Linked DNA regions of Homo sapiens: region 1 is linked to region 2. The links are contacts of gene promoters, found by promoter capture Hi-C in human tissues and cell types (Jung and others, 2019). All regions are on one chromosome and are shown on one strand. Each heading gives the region's core, a stretch centred on a gene start or on the middle of the fragment in contact. The rest is flanking DNA. Distances are from core to core; before and after follow the strand shown. Region 1 overlaps SCFD2 (sec1 family domain containing 2). Region 2 holds the start of ERVMER34-1 (endogenous retrovirus group MER34 member 1, envelope).

The links. The method cuts DNA at HindIII sites, captures the fragments that hold promoters and counts their contacts. A contact is called where the count stands out against the background at its distance.
Region 1: a contact is called between a fragment that was not itself captured here and the fragment with the promoter of ERVMER34-1 in region 2, in 4 of the 25 tissues and cell types used here (H1 embryonic stem cells, mesenchymal stem cells, mesendoderm cells and 1 more).

The regions. Positions count from the first base shown.
Region 1 is chr4:52,889,158-52,894,638 of GRCh38, forward strand. The region is part of intron 7 of SCFD2 (sec1 family domain containing 2); the gene reads right to left. Among named protein-coding and RNA genes, the nearest start is that of RASL11B, 30 kb to the left of the region's middle. The HindIII fragment of the contact is 5,036 bases long and covers 1-4,441 here.
Region 2 is chr4:52,748,000-52,753,969 of GRCh38, forward strand. ERVMER34-1 (endogenous retrovirus group MER34 member 1, envelope) reads right to left here and starts at 3,426. Exons shown (of 3, transcript NM_001242690.2): 1 at 3,344-3,426; 2 at 2,931-3,070. LOC107986281 (a long non-coding RNA gene) reads left to right here and starts at 2,968. Exons shown (of 2, transcript XR_001741691.2): 1 at 2,968-3,424; 2 at 4,035-5,558. It overlaps LOC124900185 (small nucleolar RNA SNORA26), which reads left to right and starts at 138; the gene lies at 138-260. The HindIII fragment of the contact is 17,697 bases long and covers 1-5,970 here.

The DNA of each region.
Region 1 (5,481 bases), core at 674-3,173, 140 kb after region 2:
CCTTCAAGTTTGTCTCCCCATCCGCAGTTTGGCCATACCCCATCCATTCTCCTCATTTCTGCCAAGTATGTTTTCTAAAATACAAATATTTATTATTGAAAATAGCAAACATTGTACTAACTATTTTTGTGTATTATCTTATTTAATTCTCAAAATATCCTTAGAAAGCAAACACAATTATTAGTGTATTTTGCAAATGCAGAGATTGAGGTTCATGCACAGTAATGGATCCAGGAGCAAAACGCCAGAGGCCACACTCTTAAAACACCTCTCAGCTCCATCACACACTCAGATTATCTGCATAGAGTCTCATAGCTCTTAGGATAAAGTTCGAACTCTGTATTTCAGCATATAAGGCTTTTACAACTTGGCTCTGGTTTATGACTCTATTTTCATCTCCTCCACACACATTATTTGCTGGAACCATTCACAGTGGCTTGTGCCATACCTGAACACCTGGTGTTTATTTTTTGGAATATCTGTTAAACATATGATAATTTACTGAGTGTATGCATATCACCAGTGTGCTGCTCCATTAATTTTAAAGTAAACAAACCAGTGTAACCAGTACCCAGACCAAGAAACAGAAAACCAGCACCCTGAAGAGACCCTCTCATAACCTACTCCTGTCACTACCTCCCCACAGGCAATCATCATCTTGAACTCTAACACTCTACCTTATACTTACTCAACCATACACCTTGGGGATTTTCCATATCAGTAAGAAAAGCCTGTAACCTATGGACATGGTGTGGACCACACCAGTGGGTTTTGGCCTGTTTGTGCTTAGTACTTAGCACCTGGTAAGCTTTCAGTAAATGTTGCATGAATGAAATAGTCATATGAAGGAATGAATCATATCCACAGGTTAACAGGAAAGGCCCTTCTTTTCTTAGAAACTCTCCCTTTGCTTTATGCATAGTTCTTCTGGCTGAGTAAGTAACCCAGACCTTCCTTCCAGCCCTACAAACAATTGTTGTTTCTCAGTTAATCCTGGGACAGAAATAAATTGGCTCCAGAACTTGAACGTGGTGCAATATGTTCCCAAAGACATATGCTTTCTATAAGAGAGTCTGGAATCCAAAGTACATTGGGAGAATCTTGGAAGGATGTATTGACAGATGAAAAGGGAAAAAAAGAAACAAACTGCAACAACAAAGAACAATACCCTGGGGCTAAGGAGTGGGGGAATGTTGGTTTTGGTACAAATAAATGGGTCCAATTAATGCATGTTGGTGTTTGCTATTTTGGTTTCTGTTTAGATTCATGTTTTGATACCAGACTTTTCTTGTGGAGCCGTTCAAGTCAACAGACTGTTGGGAAGTGGAGTCTTTTCAGCCTTTTCCATCAGAATAACACATTCCTTATAATCAGCCATACATGACTGAGTCCTGTTTGCATGTTTGCATGTTAGTTCATGGTATAAGGCACTTTGAAGATGAAAGACTGAAGCATAACTACTGCAATTGCAAATGCACAGATTAATAAAGCAAGTCCGAGTCACTGTTCTTTCTTTCATTTTCTAAATCTTTGCTGGCTGTGATTTTAAGACATCAGTTCTGGTGAGAGAAGACAGTTTCCTTCCACTATTCCATCCCAACCTTTGCAGCAGAGGTTGCTGAGACCCCTTTTGAGGTGTGCGCCCCTGAGAGAGCTCTTTGATGTGTTGATTGTCGTCTATCACTGGGGTTGTCAAAAGAAGGGTTTCTGCTGCTGCTTCCAGTTTCTAGGCGCCCTCTAAGAGTTTGGGATCCTGATTCCTCCTCCACATGGTGCTCCTCCACTCAGTTTCTCTTTATTTGTGACTCATTTGTCCCTACAACAGGCAAGGGGCAGGTCATTCTCCAGCTATGGGCAGGGCCTTGTAGAAGGAAGACAGTTCAATAGGAGCTTTGGCCTTAAGGGGTACTAAGCCTAGGAAGCACCCAGGTTGACACTGAAGTTGGGCCTTGGTAATGGCTTTTCTCCCACCAAGAATTAGTAACAGCACTGCCACTCCCTCCGAACACTTCACATCTCATGTTTCATTCATTTATTCATCCATTCAACAAATATTTATTGACCAACTACTGTGGGGCCAGACACCATTCTAAGCATCAGAGATTCATCAGTGAACCAAAGAGAAAAGAACCCCTGCTGTCACAGAGCTTATGTTTTAGTGGAGGGAGAGTGACAGTCAATAAAATCAGTAAGTCAGTGGGTAAGTAAGGAAGGTGGTGAGTGCTATGGAGGAAAATCAGGTGGGGGAGGGTAAGTGACAAGCATCACTTTATGCAAGCCTTAGAATCTATGAAGCAGGCAGAAGCCCCATTTCACACAGAGACACAGAGGCTTAACGAGGTGAAATAATTTGTCCAAAGCGGCTGAACTAGTAAGCTGTAGGGTTGAGGTTGAAATCAAAGACCATCTCACTGCAGAGCAGTAACCGTTCTACCTTTCATTCCACATACCGCCTTTTCCCAACAAATTCTTCAAACGAAAAGCATTTTTATTAGCATTCATCTCTGAAAACTCTGTATTTTTAGTTCTTTAGAAATATCAGCCAATCACCAGAGCCTTGTGGGACTTACTTTTACTTACACTTAATCCCATTGCAAAAGGTTTCCATGCTGCTAGAGCCTGTCGGCTATTCAGCTTGACCTCTCATCTGCTGCAGTTGATGACTTCCTTTTTCCTGAAATGTCCCCCCTGCCCTCCACTTTCTAAGCCCTCTTAGCTTCTCTCCCTCCTTGGAGGGCTCCTCTTGCTCAACTTGCTCCATGACAAGCTGTGTTCCTGACTGCTCTGGCCTCTGGCCCCTGATCTTCTCCCAAACATCCTCCCTTGGTGGCCCTGGCCCTGTCCATAGTTCAATGCCTCACACATGCCAGTGTCCCCAGATTGCTACCACTGGCCCAAGCTCTGCTGAGCTATAAGGCTGTCTCTCAGGCTCCTAAATTCAACAAGTCTGAAGTGCAAGTTTTCTTCTTTTCCAGTTCTGCTTCCCAATAGAAACAATGTTAACACTGTCCATTCAGTCACTCCAAACTAAGCAAATGGCCCTAGACAGCCTCCACTCATTTACGGCTGCATCCCCTCAATCCCCGTCCGGTGGAATCCACCAGACTTCATCCCTGCCCCCTTGTCCCCTTGGCCCTACTTGACCTTAGACTTTCATCTTCTCACCTTCCCTCCCCAAGCCAGTCTGCTCTTGTTTCTGTCTTGTGCACTGCTGCCAGGGTGAACTTCATAAAATGTAAACTGGTTATATATTCCTAGCAAACATCCAATGGCACTTCAGTGTTTCTGGTCAAATGTCAAAACTCCAGCCCTCTGGGATCTAGTGTCTGCTTATCTCTGTCTTCCTATTCTTCTACTCCCTGCAGGTCACCCTTAGCTCCAGCCATTTGGAATTGCCTTCACTCACCTCAATATATGATGGCATTTCATTACTTTGGAGTTCCTAACTCCTGCTGGTCTGGCAAAATCCAACTCCCCTGGGAAGCTTTCTCTGACTCCCTGACTGAGCTACTCCTCTGTGTCCTCACATCCCATCCACCACACCACTTATCTCTCCTCTCTGCAATCCTCAATTTTCTTATCCATCTCCTTAACAAACTGTAAGCTACATGATATAGCTGTGCTTTGGCAGGTAGGGAACCTGGTTTGTCTCTATATCTTCCTTAACCGCAACAATGACTAGCATACAAAAGAGCCTCTCCATCACTGCACACTGTCAGATGCAATACGCAGACTGCCAAAATCAAGTTTGTGTTTTTGCTTTACAGTTCATACCAAAATCTATCTCACTTGAACTTATGGATCATGTTTAGCTAATGTTATGCAAATACTGAACCCTATTTCATAGCATGGAGTATGATTAAGAAAAAGAAAATATAAACAATGGTTTCAAATAGTGTTGCAAAGAGGAATTCCAGGACTTGTACTCATTTAATCAACAAACGTGAACACTGAGATATTTTCCTCTTGTCGGAAATGCCCTTAAGTCCAATGGACCTAATCCAATAGTTCAACCCTCTGAATCTTGCTTTTTCTTCTCTCCTCTCCTCTCCCTTTCTTTCTTTTCTTTCCCTTCTTTCTCTCTCTCTCTCTCTTTCTTTCTTTCATCTTGCTATGTTGCCCAAGCTAGTTTCAAACTCCTGGGCTCAAGCGATCCTCCTGCCTCAGCCTCCCCAGCAGCCGGAATTACAGGAGCACTACTGCACCCTGTCTTGTTTTTCTTATATGAACAATGTGGAATGGGACTAGATGACCTCCAAGGCATGTTCAGCTCTCACCATCCAAGGACCTGACATCAGTCTTTACTGACAGCCCATCATTTTTGCTCTGCATTCCAAAGCATCCTTTACCCCTGCTGTATATTCCTCTGCAGGTATCTGTCCAATCCACAAGCCAACAATCTCCCCTGCCCACATGGTCATAGGAAAGGCTCCTAGCATCCATGCAGTTACAATGTGACCCTGTCCTTCAGCCACAGTTGATTGGTCCTGGAATGGCCCCCTGACCCAGGGTGGGCCAACTAGAGGCCCTTCCCTGGGAATTCAGGCTTGACCTAAGATAGATAAGGTTCAGTCAAAGCTGTGGCAATAGCTACTCAACCATTCATTTATACTATTTATTGAGCATCTACAAAATGCAGGGCGCTGTTCTCATGCAGGGCAGAATGGGTCTCACAGAACTGCCTGGTTTCCTGATGGCTTTCCAGTTCTTAGTCTCAATCCTTACTGAGGCCTCTCTCATTGCTGTCCTTGGGCTCCCCAGGACATCCCATGGGCCTCATAATAAATTTTCCTTTCTTTAAGTTATTGCAATTTGTTGGCATCTTACTTCCAATGGAAAGACTTTTAACTTACCCCCTCACCACCAGCAGCTTTTCAAAGCCTACCTGAGCTTTGAAACTACCTTGCTCTAGTTCTCTTTGTGGTCCTCTTTTTGTTGCCACTTAAGGCAATGGGGGACTCATATCCACTCAAACAAGGGACCCAGAGGTAAGCACTGGGCTTTCTGTGAGTCTTTTTCATAGTTTTAAAATTGTTTTCCAATTAAGCATGGCCACATAAGAAATGAAAGAACAAAAAAAGAACTTCTTAAAAAGCACACATAAAAGGAGGTAAAAGGGCCTCATGCAGTTTCATTAGATAAAAACCCACCCTTCTCATGTCAATTTTAGCAGAGAAAGCATCTTGACAAATCATGTCCTTTAGTCAAAACAAGCTGAGGTCCAAACATATGGAGTAGATAGAAAATAAATTATTTTCAGGAGACTGAGATCCAAACCACAAATTCCAGAAATGCACTTTAAAAGTGCTGCCTATTAGACATGCTAGTTTTAAATTAAATTAATGTTGTAGGGAGAGGGGTAAGGTATGTCTTGATTTATTTGTTAGATCATTATCAAGCTTTCCTCTAAGGAGCTCAAGGTATTCCATGCACAAGGATTTTAGAGAAAAGGCTGTTTGAAGAATGTCAGGTTCTGCCAAA
Region 2 (5,970 bases), core at 2,176-4,675:
GCACTCCAGCCTGGGCAACAAGAGGGAAACTCCATCTCAAAAAAGAAACTAAGATTCATGAGCTGTGGACCAGGGAGCAGTGCAGGGAGTAGTAGCAAACCCTGTAAAAAAAAAAAATCTTAAATCACCCTTTCTTGTGCCCCTTTTAAGGTTGACACAGTGCATTAAGCAGAAGGGTTAAGTAAGTCTCCATAAAACCCAGAGAAGAGAATGTAAAGCTCCTCTTTGGAGGAGCTAGACTCCTGTCTGGAGTCACAGCTGAACAAATTCCTTACAGTTTAAGCACATTTGTGATATTTTTGCATATCACATATGATGCATTCAAACTTAACCTTAGCTTTGACAGTGCATAAAAACCAAGTGTTGGTATTTGACACTGTAAGCAGTAATGGCCCAGCAGAATAGTATAGACTGCTTTCACCTGAGAACATCTGAAGACTGGCTGACTCTGGTCATAATGCCTCCCAGAACCAGATTTCAATGGGTACGGACATTTGAACTGTTACCTACTTAGGCCATGGAATGTCTCAAGTTACTCAAACTCACCCGCAAAGGCCTTGCGTCACTTGCGTTCCTCCTGATCTCGAAGGCAGGTGTGCACACTTAGCAGCTGGCTGTTGCTACCAATGGATTCCCAGTTGTGCTGCCTTTGCCTAACCTCTACATGCTCTCCCAGGCATAACCACAGAAACCTTCACTGAGATATTGAAATTAGCATTAACCACCCCACACACCTGTTTTTATTTACTCAGTTTTGACAAGCCTTTCCGTGTATATTGCTGTGAAAACAATGAGATAGCTGTAGGTATTCTAGGACAACTTTCTTCCTCTCAGGTAAGTTGCATAGCATATTTTTTTTTCTTTTTTTTCCTTAGAAACAGGGTCTCACTCTGTTGCCCAAGCTGGAATGCAGTGGTGCAAGCATGGCTCACTGCAGCATCGAACACCTGGGCTCAAGAGATCCTCCCACCTCAGTCTCCCCTGTAGCTGGGACTACAGGCATGCACCACCATACCTGGCTTCCTTTTTTAAAAAAAATTATTTTTAATAGGGACAAGGTCTGGCCATGTTGCCCAGGGTGGTCTCAAACTTCTAAGCTCAAGTGATCCTCTCATCTTGGCATCCCAAAGTGCTAGTATTATAGGTGTGAGCCACCATGCCCGGCCTCATAGCATATTTTTCATGTCAGTTGGATCCCGTGGTATCAGGCATGCTCCTATGCCTATGTAGTGACCTCAGCTGCCATCCTAATTGACAAAGCCATTAACCTTACAATAGGTTCTCTTATTTACCTTTGTTTCCCATTCTGTGTCAACTCTTACAGTTCCATAAAAGAGTGCCTTTCTACTTGACAGACCAACCCCTCCTCATCTTGCAACTCTGTAATGCTCTAAACCTGTACCTCTCCCTGATGGAGAACCCCACTCCACATCACATGATTGCCTTACAGTCACAGAGTTGGCTTCTAAACCACAAGAAGACCTCTTAAGATACTCCTTGAGCCATCCACACTTACTCTGGGCCGGGTGTGGTGGCTCACACCTGTAATCCCAGCACTTTGGGAGGCCGAGGTAGGGCAGATCACCTGACGTCAGGAGTTTGAGACCAGCCTGGCCAACATGGTGAAATCCCATCTCTACTAAAAAATACAAAAATTAGCCAGCGTGGTGGCTTGTGCATGTCTTCCCAGCTACTCGGGGGATCACTTGAACCCAGGAGGTGGAGGTTGCAGTGAGCCGAGATGGCAGCCTGGGCAACAGAGCGAGGCTCTGTCTTAAACAAACAAACAAAAACAGACTTACTCTATCCTGTGACAACTCTTATAAACAAAATTCTCAGAAAGATAATAACCAGCTATGACATAGTGAGCTTGTACACTGGTGAAAGAGAAAACGTACACTACTTACACTGACTAGGTATACCCTGGGACTCTGCCATGTCCTTGGCAGTTTGGAAACCCCATAGATGATGATGATGATGATTTGAGACGGAATTCTTCTTATTATTATTATTAATTGAGATGGAATCTCACTCTGTTGCTCGGGCTGGAGTGCAGTGGTGCGATCTCCGCTCACCACAACCTCTACATCCCAGGTTCAAGCAATTCTCCTGCCTCAGCCTCCCGGCTAGCTGGAATTACAGGCATGCACCACCACGCCTGGCTAATTTTTGAATTTTTAGTAGAGATGGGGTTTCACCATGTTGGCCAGGTAGGTCTCGAACTCCTGACCTCAGGCAATCCGCCCACCTCGGCCTCCCAAAGTGATGGGATCACCGGAGTGAGCCACTGCGCCCTACCCCCCCATAGATTCTCGACCTCAGCATATACTCCCATCACCAATGGGCATATAATTGTTATCCTATTACAGTCTATTTATTTTCCTACATAAATTATTATTGTTCATTGCGCAACACTTAGGAAACTGATAGAGTATCTTTATGGAATTGTAGGGCTGAGAAAGCTGCTAAATGGGCAGGCAAAAATGGACTCCCTGTCTCTCCTCCACCCAGCTTGCGACCCTCCTCTTATCTCTGACTCACGTTCATTGTCGGGCAAATGCCCCACAACCTAAAACAGACATGGCTACCAAAGGGGGCCAAGCAGTTATGCGATGGATTAGACATGGGACCAAATGGACTTCTTTGGCCACTGTGCTCACAAAGGGGAGACATAGGAGAAGCTCAGGAAAAAATAAAGCGTTATACTCACAAGTCCTAAAGACAGGAACCATGCCAACCATACAGGGCCACATGGGAAAGACACCAGGATGGTCAACAGGCAGAAGATCATCGTGAGGGAAAGGTTCAGAGCACAGCCTCTATTGCCTTCCTGTTAAGCGAGCAGGATTCAGACACCAGGAACCCTCCGGTCCCACTGGCCACGTGCTCAGGGCTGGGTAATTTCCTCCCGCTCAAGGGTAGGAACATACCTGCGCTTAAAACTGAGGCTGCCGCACCTCCGCAGACGTAGACAACGAATTCCTGGAGCCCAAGGTCGGCCGGGGTTGGGTTCCTGTCGCCGCACGCGTGGCCCGCCCGAAACCCGCTACAAAGTAGCGGCGTGTCTGCCCTAGGGAGGCAAAGCGCAAACTTGTTACCGCGCCGGGACCTGCCCCGGGATTCTCCCAGCGGCTCCGCAGGACGCAGCGCCTGTGCCTCGCGCGGCCCTGGGACGGGCACGGCCGTCCGCCCCCTGGGCCGCCGAGGGCTGCTTTACCCCTCCGTTCTGGCCGCGGGCAGCAGAGGAGCTCGGGGCGGGCAAAGCTCGAGGGGACACGGGGCGAGCCCAGACCCTGCCTGGGAGCCCTCCCCGCCGGAGACCAAAGGGCAGAAACGCACTCACAGTGCAACTCCGAGGGATAAACTGGCCGACGATCGCCGCCAGGCCAGAAGACCAAGAAGAAGGCTCGCGGCGGGAACTGAAGTGAGCGGGGACACACGAGGGCTGGGAAGATCCTGGGTTGGGGCGGAGCGGGGCTGGGAAGATCCTGGGTTGGGGCGGGGCGGGGCACCGCAGAGCGGACAGCCGGATTCAGGCACCAGGAACCCACCGGTCCCACTGGCCAGGTGCTCCGAGCTGGGTGATTTTCTCCCGCTCAAGACTAGGAACATACCTGCGCTTTCGGCGCAGGGAAGACTCTGGGCGAGGGCGGGGCTGGGAGGAGGGCCGCGGGGCAGGCAGCCAATCCCAGGAAACTTCGGGACGAGGGCAGGACGGGGGCTGGACGGGCCCAGCCATTGGCCACCTGTGTCCACTGCCTGCCTAGGTCTGGCTTCCTAGGTCTGGCGGGTGAGACACAAGGCGAGCCTGCACGAAGCATCCTTCGAACCTCAGGTACCCTGGGCAGGAGAATCGGCTTCTTCAGGCATCCTGCTGGGCCTTGGCCCTCGTCGATCTGGTTCTCTCAGCCCCTCGGTTTCTCCCCTGGGGAGACTTCGCGATTACCCTCTCCTCCCCTTGGCGCCTAGGCTCTCAGTCACGCGACCGCCTAGAGCCCTGAGCTGCTATTTATGCCGCGTTTTTATTCACTTAGGTATTCAGCACGCCTTCATCAGGTGTGTACTCTGTGCCAGGCAATCTTCTAATCCTTAAATGGACGAAACAAAGGCCTCCCTTGGACTGACATTTTTAATGAAGAATAAAAACCCATAATGAAATATAAAAATATTAACGTTATAAGAGCTAAGGGAAAAAACATGTGTTACAACTTGAAAATACAAAAATAGGAAATCATCTTTCTCTGTGGACGAATGAAACCCCTGATTCTAAGAAACAAAGAAACAAAACTCATCATGACTGGTGTTCTGTACTCTTTGGAAAATACGTTTTACTGTAGAAATGACTAAATGCGATGAAAGACTCTTTACCAGAAGCAGTGGCTGGTTGGCGGCGCCTGTACGCCTGAGGAGCACCCTTTTTGTGTCCATGTTTGATAAAGCAGAAGAGACCTAAAGAGACAAGGGGCGGCCGGGCGCGGTGGCTCACTCCTGTAATCCCAGCACTTTGGGAGGCCGAGGCGGGCAGATCATCTGAGATCGGGAGTTCGAGACCAGCCTGACCAACATGGAGAAACCCCGTCTATACTAAAAATACACAATTAACCGGTTATAGTGGCGCATGCCTGTAATGCCAGCTACTTGGGAGGCTGAAGCAGGAAAATCGCTTGAGGCAGAGGTTGCGGTGAACCGAGACTGCGCTATTGCACTCCAGCGGGCAACAAGAGCCAAACTCTGTCTCAAAAACAAACAAACAAACAAACAAACAAAAAAAAAACCACAAGGGCCATCGCTCTGGGGCGTGGGACATATGGTCCGCAGTTGGGATACTAACTGTTGTATGGATGGGGGAGTGGTCCTCAAACCCTGGAGCTTCTCAGTCCCTGCCTCTTTCAACCTCTAAATGGGCCCACTGCTTTTCCCTTCCCACTGTTCTGCCGGCTGGAGCACCCCCAGCACCAGCAGCGCGGCTCCCACGCCTCTGGTCTGGGCTCTGCCAGCCCCACGGGTCTAAGCTCTCCCCAGGCCATTATTTTTTGTCTCCTCTTTCTTCATTGAGGTCCTCTCTCTGTCACTTGCTCTTTTGCCTGGCTCAAGACATGGGTTTAAACACTGTTTATACTACCCCTTGCTAATGTTGACTCACTACCCCATATCTTTTTCTTTTTTCTTTTTTTTTCCAAGTAGCACTCTTTGAGATGTCCTTTTATTGATGTTTCTTTACACGTTGTTTTTACATGCATTACAGTGTGATGAACATATCCATCCACTGAAATAACATTATTCTCAACTACGCAAAAGAAAGCAATACTCTTAGAAGAATCCTTTCTGCATATGTCTTTAGACACTTTTACATTCATAACACTGGTCACCAACCCATTTCTATGTTTAAGTAACTTGACTTTTTCTCCTTCTCCCTTTCTCTACCTATTAAATTCACATTTTATTTTACCCCAAGCTACTTTTACCTAGTACAGTGTCTATGTTTTTCACTGTAAGATTGAGTAAGGCCAGAGATGAGGAGAATAGTGATTGTGAAATAAAATGAAAGATATACTCAATTCTTGGGAGCAATAGCCTTGTTGTTGGGTTATGTTTATTCATTTATAAAACTAATGAGAACCTACCATAGTCAAGCACTGTAGTAGACCTGAGAGAAAATAGTGAATAAAACCCCAAATCAAGGACCTTGCCCTTGTGGAACTTTTAGTATAGTATATGGAACAGGCATTGATACACGAATCCTGTATAAATGTAAAATTACCACTTAAGAGCTGGAGTGGTGGTGTCAGGGACCTAGCTGTCAGTTTGAGGGAAGGATGATTAAGCACAAAATTGAAGATCATTTTATAAAGCAAAAGAGTGGAGCTTGGGGTATAGGTAGAGGAAAGAGGATGTACAGTGTGTGTGCTCTAGGAAGGAGCTCACTGTATCCATGGACATGTAGAAAGGCTGCCATGACTTTCTACACAA